Regions from separate parts of the Homo sapiens genome. Here region 1 is linked to region 2. Evidence: promoter capture Hi-C in human tissues and cell types (Jung and others, 2019). All regions are on one chromosome and are shown on one strand. The core of a region is centred on a gene start or on the middle of the fragment in contact, and the rest is flanking DNA. Distances in the headings are between cores, read along the strand shown.

Region 1 (4,955 bases), core at 248-2,747, 140 kb before region 2:
AACAAAAAACAAAAAATAAAAAATAAAAAAGGTAACATGTTCAAGTAGTATAGATGCCAAGAATTCAAAGATGATTTAACATAAGAAAAATCTGTTAATATAATAGATTTAGAGAGTACAGAAAAATAGATTAAATGTGTACAAAAGAAAACAATTACACAATGCAGAAAAAACACTCAGCAAAAGTTCAGCTCTGATTTATGATGAAATCTTTCTGGACTCTAGCTGTTTCTACGTTGTTGCTCCATCGTTTCAATCTGTGGCTTCCATCACATGTTCCAAGATGTCTGCCCCTCCTGTTATGACACATTCCGGACAAGAGAAAGGGGAAAAGGGAAGGAGAATGGCGCATTCTCTCTCTGTCTATGCAGACACTTCCATCACTTCACTTTATATCTCTTTGATCAGAATTAGTCCCAGGGCCACAGATAGCTGCAAATGGGGCTGAGAAATGAACTTTATTCCATGAGGCCACATTCTTGCTAAAAACACAGGATTCTATTTTGTAGAGAAGGAGTCAGTAAACTTTGGCCCTCACCTGCTTCTGTAAATAAAGCTTTCTTTTTCTATTTTTTTTTTTTTTTCTGAGACGGAGTCTCTCTCCGTTGCCCAGGTTGAAGTGCAATGGCACAATCTCGGCTCACTGTAACCTCTACCTCTCAGGTTCAAGCAGTTCTCGTGCCTCAGCCTCCCAAGTAGCTGGGATTACAGACGTGCACCACTATGCCCGGCTAATGTTTTGTATTTTTTCTTTTTTTTTTTTTTTTAGTACAGACGGGGTTTCACCATGTTCGCCAGACTGTTCTCGAACTCCTGGCCTCAGGTGATCTGCCCATCTCAGCCTCCCAAAGTGTTGGGATTACAGGTGTGAGCCACCACACCTGGCCAGTTTTTTTTTTTTTTTTTTTTTTTTTTTTTTGCAACAAGGTCTGGCTCTGTCGCCCAGGCTGGAGTGCAGCGGCGTGATCTTGACTCACTGCAGCCTCTGGATCTTGACTCACTGCAGCCTCTGCCTTCCAGGCTCAAGTGATCCTCTTGCCTCAGCCTCCCAAGTAGCTGGGATTACAGGCGCAAGCCACCATACCCTGCTAATTTTTGTATTTTTTTGTAGAGACGGGGTTTCACCATGTTGCTCAGGCTGGTCTTGAACTCCTGTGCTCAAGTGATCTACCCGCCTTCGCCTCCAAAGTGCTGGGTTACAGGAATGAGCCACGGATCCCGGCCTGTAAATAAAGTTTTATCGGAACACAGCCATGCCTGTTTGTTTACATGTCATTTATGACCACAGCAACAGCAGAATTGAGTAGTTATGATAAAGACTGTATGACCTGGTAAGCCTAAAATACTTGCTATCTGGCCCTTTATAGGAGATGTTTCTGGACCTCTGGTGTAGCAAGAAGGGGATAATTGGTATTAGGGGTAATTAGAAGCCTCCGTTATAGTGCTATTATTGCTGTTCAGCATCATCCTGGGCATGGTAGCCAAACTGCACAAGACAGAAAAAGACATTAAAAGTTGTAAGAATTGGAAAGGAAGAGATAAAACAATATGCTCACCTATACAGAAAATCAACACCATCAACAAACAAACAAACAATTCGACCTAATAAGAGGCTTCGGCAGGTGTATTAGTCTATCACCACAATAACACATGAAGAACATACAAGAAGAAACTTAAATTCTTTCCAAATTAACATATACATTCAACGCAATAAAAATAAAATTTCAATTGATTTTCTTTTTGAGATGGATTCTCCCTCTGTCACCCAGGTGGGAGTACAATGGTGTAATCTCACCTCACTGCAACCTCCGCCTCCAGGTTCAAGCGATTCTCCTGCCTCAGCCTCTCAAGTAGCTGGGAGTACAGGTGCCCGCCACCACGTCCAGCTAATTTTTGTATTTTTAGTAGAGATGGGGTTTCACCGTGTTGGCCAGACTGGTCTTGAACTCCTGACCTCAAGTGATCCACCTGCCTCAAACTCCCAAAGTGCTGGGATTAGAGGAGTGAGCCACTGCGCCCGACCTCAATTGGATTTTTAAAAGCAATGCAACAACTTTAAAAAAAATATATGTGGCAAGATAAAAGTCAATATGGGAAAAAAAGGAGAAATTGGAGGAAGGGGGAACTAGCCTTATTAGACTTTAAAATATATTACAAAGCCATAGTAATAAAAATAGCACAGTAATGATACAAGAATAGACGGATAAACCAATGTTATAGAATAAAGAGCCGAGAGACAGAACTGTGCCTACATGGGAACTTAATATACAATAAAGGTAACATCTCAAATTGGTAGAAGAAAGACATTATTGGGAAAACTGGCTCACTCTATGAAGATAAGTAAAACTGGATTCATACCTAACATCACAGGCAAAGGTGGATGTTGGATAGATTGAAGACCTAAACATATAACATAAAATTACAGAACTAGTAGGAAAAAAGAAAGAAAGAAAAATCTATACTACTAAGAGTATAGAAGGGTTTCTTCTTCTTCTTTTTTTTTTTTTTGAGACAGAGTCTTGCTCTGTCGTCAGGCTGGAGAGCAGTGGCGTGATCTTGGCTCACTGCAACCTCTGCCTCCCAGGTTCAAGCAATTCCCCTTCTTAGCCTCCTGAGTAGCTGGGAATACAGGCATGCGCCACCACGCCCAGCTAATTTTTCGAATTTTAGTAGAGACGGGGTTTCACCCTGTTGGCCAGGCTGGTCTCCATCTCCTGACCTCATGATCCACCCACCTTGGCCTCCCAAAGTGCTGGGATTACAGGTGTGAGCCATCGCGCCCGGCTGAAGAGCTTGTTAAATAAGGCCTCCGAAGCACATTCCAAAAAGCCAAAAAAAATTTGTGAAATTGCATGAAAATGATAAATTTCAGTTCAACAGCAATGTATCAGGTAGGCTCCCAGCAAGCAACAGATGGCACACCCAAAAATGGGTAAGTGCAAGATTTCATAATATAGGGACTCTCTGCAAAGGTGTGAACAGGCTTAGGGAAGCCACAAGATGGAGCAAGAACCTAGGCATCCCAGAGTGGGGAGCTGTTACCACCTCCAGGACCGCAGGGAGAGGGCCTCCCAACAGGAGCTGTGATACTCAGTTGCAGGGGGCAGCTAACCCACAGCCACTCTACAGGGAGGGGCCGGGGAGTTAATATCCTCACTTCCCTCTCTTCCTGGAAGAGGGCTGGAAGCCAGATGGCAAGGGAGCGATTTGATGCAGTCATACAGCTCAGCCTCCCAGGCCACAGAACAACATGGAGAAGGATAGAGTGTGGATCTGGAAGGACAAATGGAAGACATTCAACACAGAAGGAGACCAAGATGAAGAAATACACAGGAAACCTATTGGAAAAGTGGCATCAGGTATAAACAAGCAGTTCACAGATGAGGAAGCCTGGGGTTCTAATGTGCATATGAAGACATGTTTACAATCACTAGTGACTAACTAGAGAAATCAAACACGAGTGAGCCATCTGTTTACACCCATCCAATTGACAAACATTAAGAGGAAGTCAATTGCTGCCAAGGTTGTGGGAGAAGCTGCTGATGGGAGGATAAATTGGAATAGCCATTCTGCAAGATATTTACTGGAATTAAGAATACATAGTATCAGGACGGGCACGATGGCTCACGCCTGTAATCCCAGCACTTTGGGAGGCCGAGGCGGGTGAATCATGAGGTCAGGAGTTCGAGACCAGCCTGACCAACATGATGAAATCCTGTCTCTACTAAAAATACCAAAATAAGCCGGGCATGGTGGCGTGCGCCTGTAATCCCAGCTACTCAGGAGGCTGAGGCAGTAGAATCGCTTGAATTCGGGAGGTGGAGGTTGCAGTGAGCCGAGATCGAGCCATTGCACTCCAGCCTGGGCAACAGAGGGAGACTTTGTCTAAAAAAAAAAAAAAATGCATATTATCGGCCGGGCATGGTGGCTCATGCCTGTAATCCCAGCACTTTGGGAGGCCGAGGTGGGTGGATCACTTCAGGTCAAGAGTTCTAGACCAGCCTGGTCAACACAGTGAAACCCCGTCTCTACTAAAAATACAACAGTAACAACAAAAATTAGCTGGACTTGGGGGCGGGCACCTGTAATCCTTGCCACTTGGGAGGCTGAGACAGGAGAATCGCTTGAACCCAGGAAGCAGAGATTGCAGTGAGCCAAGATTGTGCCATTGCACTCCAGTCTGGGTGACAAGAGTGAAACTCCGTCTCGAAAAAAAAAAAAAGATGATCCCTGAAAATCCTACTTCCAGATACATACACCAGAGAGAATCTCTGACAGGTCCATTATGGGGCACTGTGAAGATGTTCACTGCAGTGCTGTTTGGGTAGCAAGGAGCTGGAGGCAGCCTGGGTGCCTACTGAGAGCAGAATGCGGGAAACATGTCTGATGGGCTACTATCCAGCATTTAGGACTCGCCTGTAATCCCAGCACTTTGGGAGGCCAAGGCAGGCGGATCACCTGAGGTTGGGAGTTCGAGACCAGCCTCACCAATATGGGGAAACCCCGTCTCTACTAAAAATACAAAAAATCAGCCGGGCATGGTGGCAGGAGCCTGTAGTCCTAGCTATTTGGAAGCCTGAGGCAGAGCACTCCAGCCTGGGTGACAGAGTGAGTGAGACTCCGTCTCGAAAAAAAACAAAAACAAAAAACAGTGACTAGATATACACAGAACAACATGAATAGACCTAATATCAGCATTAAATGAGAAGTAGAAAACAGAATGCAGTTTAGAACACGACAACATTGATTAATGTCAAAAGCCTATGCACACAACTCCACTTTGTAATTTTCCAGGATCCAGCTATTTTCAAGGACATACATCAAACCTATTCAAATGGATTTTTTTTTTTTTTTTTTTTTTTTTTGAGACAGAGTTTTACTCTTGTTGCCCAGGCTGGAGTGCAATGGCGTGATCTTGGCTCACTGCAACCTCTGCCTCCTGGATTCAAGTGATT
Region 2 (5,456 bases), core at 1,852-4,351:
CAAGAGATGGAGACCATCCTGGCCAACATGGTGAAACCTCGTCTCTACTAAAAATACAAAAAGTAGCTGGGTGTGGTGGCACGTGCCTGTAGTCCCAGCTACTCGGGAAGCTGAGGCAGGAGAATCGCTTGAACCTGGGATGTGGAGGTTGTAGTGAACCGAGATTGCGGCACTGCACTTCAGCCTGGCCACAGAGTGAGACTCCGTCTCAAAAAAATAAATAAATAAAATAAAAGCAGTGGTGGTAGGTGGAGGCCCCTGCTAGTGGGAGGAGTTTTGTTTCTCCTCCTGTTTTTTTTTTTTTTTTTTTTTTTGAGACAGAGTCTTGCTGTGTTGCCTATGCTGGAGTGCAGTGGTGTGATCTCGGCTCACTGCAATCTCCACCTCCCGGGTTCAGACGATCCTTCCACTTTAGCTTCCTGAGTAGCTGGGACTACAGGTGTGCACCACCGTGCCCGGCTAATTTTCATTTTTATTTTTTGTAGAGACCACATCTGACTATGTTGCCCAGGCTGGCCTTGAGCTCTTGGATTCAAGTGATCCTCCTGCACTGGCCTCCCAAAGTGCTGGCATTACAGGCATGAGCCACCATGCTTGGCTAAAATCTCCTCCTCACTTGCACCACTCTGAATGACAGCCTGCCAGAGAGGCCCTGACAAGCTTTGGGCTGACCATTCAGCTCTGAAAGGGGATAGGCCAGAAATTCTCAAACTTTGCTGCTCATTGGAAGCACTGGGAGAGCTTTAGAAAAATACTGATGACTCGTCCCATGTCCAGATATTTTAATCTATGGAGTGTGACCTGGGCAGTGGGAGTTTAAAAGCTTCCTAGGTGATTCTAATTTGTAATAAAGTTTAGGAACCATTGGAATAGGCCTTTCTGGGAGAGTTTTTGGCACAAACTTGCCTGGAGCAGTCACGGGAGAAAAGCCAAGAAAGAGGGGCTCTTACCCGGTAGTGGACGAGCCCGTTCAGAGGGTGATCCAGAGGTGTCTTGAGCCTGGGATGTGAGGAGGTAGGGGGTACTGGCTGGAGCCCCACATTTGAACTGCACAGTGGCAGCAGTTGGAGAGAGCCTAGGCAGATGGCAAGGAAAGGGTTAAAAGAGATTGTACGGTTGAGGGGTGGGGGTTCTCTCCTGGGAAATTTGGAGCCAAAGGCCTGCCCTCTCAGGGTGAGCCAATATTGTTGACCAATGAGCCACATCCATTGTACTGCCCAAGTGCCACCCTGCTGAATAAACCTGGTCTCTGGCCAGCTCCTTAAGGTGAGCTAGTGTCTCTGAAACCCACCACCTATCTCCCTTCCTCCTGACCATCAAGGCCCAATGACTCTGTCTTCTAGCTGAGGCCAGCTCTGACAAATTCTTGAGGTTCTAGACTCTGTACCTGCTCTGGGGACCAGGAATGGGTCCTTCTTCACTGCTGCTGCTGCTGCTGCTGCTGCTGCTGGAGGCCTCGTCTCCACTGGGGAGCCTGGCTTGGGGGCAAGGTTGACCAGAACTTCTCTCCCCGACCAGGCTCCCTGCTTGGGAGGCCTGAGAGTTTAGCACGATGTACTTGTACTTTTTCCAGTTGCAGGCCTTGGGGTCAGGGCTGGCTGGACTGGGGGGGCCTTGACTGCAGCTTCGAGATTCAGTAGGTGGGTCTGGGTGTCCTTCGGAGCGCCTGGGACTACCTGGTGGAGGGGCCGTTGGGGGTGTTGGGGGTTCTGCTTCCAGGGGGCGCAGGGAGATGCCCAGAGGTTCATAGCTGGGGAAAGTGTGATGAACGTTAGTGCCATTTCCTAAACTCTGCCTTTGCCCTTAACACCTCACCCACAGAGAACGCCGAGCCAGGGTCCCTCACCTGGCCTGGATGAAGCGGTGGCATGCCTGGACCACGTGCTCCATCTGCAAATAGGTGGCGGCCGCTAGGACTGCTGGTGCAGTGGCTGGAGAGAGGCGCAGGCGCGAAGTGTACATGAAGTCCAATAGAGGGGCGAAGCCTCTCGCTTCGGGACCCCCGGGCAGAGAGAGCACGTCCACCCCGACTCCCGCACGGCCCCGGAAAATTGAATAGAAGAAGCCACTAGAGAGAGAGCAGATAAGTCCTTTGGGGGCTGGGGAACCAAGGGAGACATGCGCAGCTTCAGGAAGCCCCGCCCCCTGAAAAAGTCCCGCCTCCTCACTATCACCCCGCCCCCAATTCTGGGACGCTCCGCCTCCTGCTTCTGAAAGACTTGGCTTCGGATTCCCTCTCAACGGCCCTGTGGTCCCACCCCTTTCCCATTTGGCCCCGCCCCAGGCCCCACCCCTCGAACCTGCAGGCGATGAGAACTGCCTTGTGTGCTCTGAGGGGTTGCCCGCCAACCAGCAGCGTGACGTCAGTGAGGATCCCGCGCAGGCGCAGCTCGTTGAGGTTGCCCAGCACGTCGGAGGAGTGGCGAGTGAACTCGCGGACGTAGCCCAGCGCTCCCTCCGGGGCGGCGGGGGAACCCATAGCGACACAGGCCTGTAGAGGCCGTGGAAAGTGCTCTGGATCCAGGCAGTCCTAAGACGCCTTCCCTCCTCTGTTTGCCTTTTCCTTCCGAGGTGCAACTAGAGCCAGGACTTCCAGCCCCTAGCCCCGGCACACGCAGCCTCCCTCCTAATTCTTCTTGTTCATTCTGCCCTCTACGACACCCTCGCTCCCTTGCCTCTTCCAGATCCCACAGCGCTTGGAGCCAGTTGAAGGTTCCACACCGCGGCGTCGTTGGCGAGCGTGGGGAATCCCGCGCCCATCGCCCTGGGTTCGACCCCCAGTGCCCCTCCAGCACCGCCACTCCCCTCTGCGCGCCTGTGTCTCAGGTGTCCAACCCTGCCTCGAGATCTCACGGCCTGCCGTCCACACACCTCCAAATCCCAGCCGAGGCTCCCTTCCCCGAACTACGGAATTCTGCGACTCCTATCTAGTCCCCAATCCCTAGTTTAGCCCAATTTCTGGGACTCAGGCTCGCTGATGGCAAGCTCCACACAAGCTCCTACCCTCTTGGGGGACCCAGGAGTCTGGCTCCCTCAGTCTCTTGTTCTTACCCCCGTCCTGCAGGGGCCGCGGCTTCTCTTCTTAAGGGGGGCGGGGTCTCTCTCCCCTCTTGGCCTCGGCTCCTTTATCTGGCCGGGATGTCGGGGGCGGGGGTGGAGGTGGGGTGAACGCCTGGGTCTGTATCCTTCCTTCCTCCCTCGCTCTCCAGATGGCGAGTCCAGGGCGGGGTCTCCGTCTCGAGGGCGGGACCTCAGAAACAAGGGGTGGTCGTAACGTAGGGGGTCTTGGGTCACTGCAAGTGGACACGAGGACGGGGATATTGGAATTGGGGAGGAGGTTAGGGATATCGAGGTTGGCAATACGGGAGTCTGAGTCGTCGGAAGGCCTGGGCCAGTGAAAATTGGTGTGTTGGCTTTTGGGAGGGTTTGCCAGGAGCCAACCTTTGCTGCAGGACAAAGTGCATACGGCAACCCCCTCTCCCTCTCTTGTACTGTGTTAAGGGAGAAAAGGGGGAGCCCAACGAGACAGCAGGTTTGGGCAGACGACAGTGGGCTCCCGTAGGGTCTCAGACGGGGAGGGTGTGGTGTGAATGACAGGCTACTCTACCCGGGCCTACAAAAAGGGGGGCTCTGGCCGGGCGGGGTACGGAGAGGGCGGATATGATTTCTAGTTGGTTTCCTTCCATTGTCCTGCGACCGGACGGCTCCGCCAGCTGCTTCCCCTCGAGGAGGTGGGGAAAGCCCCGAGGTGGGGGTGGAGGGGCGAGAGACGCTCGGGAGACCTAGGCGTCCGGCCTCTCTCGCTCCCGACTCTCTTCTGGGTCCTTGTAGGGATCCAGAGAGATGGACTCCCGCCCAAAGCCCGCTTGCTTTCCCCCAATCCCAGCTCACGAGGGCCTCGGGCACCCGCCCGTCGGCTACGCTTGGAGGCTGGCGGGACGCCGGGGTCCAGCGCGGCAAGTAGGCAAGGCTCGGCAATGTGCGGCTCCTTCCACGAGGGGGCGGCCGAGCACTGGCCTCGCCTCGCCCCTCGTCTCCACCCGGCCTGGGGTGCGCTCAGACCCGGGCGCAGGATCCATTTGGTCTGGGCGGCTGAAACCTTTAGCCTCCTCCCCTTTGCGCGGGTTTATTTTGCACCTCTGTCTCCTAGGAGGGGACTAGGGCTGGGCGGAGGGAGCTAGAGTTAGGAGACCGAGGGGACTTTCCCCTCAGGCTGGGGTTCCTACCCGAGGTGAGAAATCGCGGGCTTTAGGAGCCAGGGGAATGGGTGGGACAAGAAGCGGGACCTGAGCCTGGGAACTCCGGGTTTTCTTTTCGAATTAAGCTAGACACTGCTACCCAGATGTCTTTGGAGGTGACTTTTAATTGAACATTAAAATTGGGTGGGGTAAACGAGAAGGGAAAACAAGGAGGAGGGAGAGAGGGCAGGAGGGGGCTTAACCACCCTAATTTGAAGTCCCTGATCTGAGAGATGGGCATGGATCACACCCTCATATTTTGTTTCGGGAGACATTGCGGGCAGGCAAGGCAAAGCTCATTTGGAGAAGGGGTGCTAGAGCTGAATCCAGCTGCAAGGCAGAAGCTCCCCGGATTTGGGCTGGGGAGAGTGTACAGTTGGCCAGGAATGGCCGACCATGGTCCACGGGGCTGGATATCAGGCCCGGGGCCCTCCCCTTCAGACCGGAGTGTGTCTTTATTTGAATGCATGAAAGAACAGCTGAGAAACCGGGAACTGGGAAATTCAGGACGATGAGGTGGCTTTGACATGTGAGGGTTATTTAGGTCTCTGCCCAGCTTGGAGATGAGAATTAGACTAGGGGCTCTCCCTTTGGCATCAGGATGGAGTATTATTTGATCAGTTGTGGGGTGTCTGTTTATTATGGGGTGTTGATTTGATTGTGAGCACCGGTGGCTGCATTCAGCCTTTGAGGCCTATATGGTAAGTTTCAGGTATGGGGCTGACTTGGAAGTTACATTAGTTCTGGGGGTTCTGACACCCACAATTTGGAGATTGTGCTCACCTGTGTCATCTTGGACTATCAGCAGAACCAAAGTACTCATGCTGATTTGGGGGTGCAGTCTATTTTGGGGTGCCATCTAAGTTTCAAGGCTCAGATTAGATTTGGGGAATAAGTTCAATTTGGAGTTTTAAAAATTAGTTTGAGGTGGAACATTATAGGAAGCTGGGAGCAAGTTCGAAGCTTTCTGTGATTGGGGGTCCTGGGAGGGGGGAGCAAACTTTTATATTTGAGTCTTGTGGACACTCACGTTCCACAAAGTGGAAAGACGTGGGGTATTCCTGTGTATCCATGGATACCCAAGAAGCTTTTTCCCCAGGGGAGAAACAAGGTGAGGGCCGCGAGGACAGGAGACTAAAGTTCTGGGGTGTTCTTATTTTGGGGGTGTTTTGTCACTCTGGCTGCTTTTGGTGAAGCTAAGGGATAATCATAAGGTGA

Evidence for each region. Contacts are between HindIII fragments. The study calls those that stand out against the background at their distance.
Region 1: a fragment that was not itself captured here is called in contact with the fragment with the promoter of BCL6B in region 2 in 2 of the 25 tissues and cell types used here (bladder and heart right ventricle).

Annotation. Positions count from the first base shown.
Region 1 is chr17:7,163,339-7,168,293 of GRCh38, reverse strand. No RefSeq gene overlaps it. Among named protein-coding and RNA genes, the nearest start is that of ASGR1, 14 kb to the left of the region's middle. The HindIII fragment of the contact is 4,369 bases long and covers 1-3,681 here.
Region 2 is chr17:7,020,695-7,026,150 of GRCh38, reverse strand. It overlaps BCL6B (BCL6B transcription repressor), which reads right to left and starts at 3,101. Exons shown (of 9, transcript NM_181844.4): 1 at 3,052-3,101; 2 at 2,301-2,491; 3 at 1,847-2,068; 4 at 1,388-1,750; 5 at 951-1,075. The coding sequence starts at 2,479. RefSeq lists a silencer at 4,008-4,147. The HindIII fragment of the contact is 11,810 bases long and covers 1-5,456 here.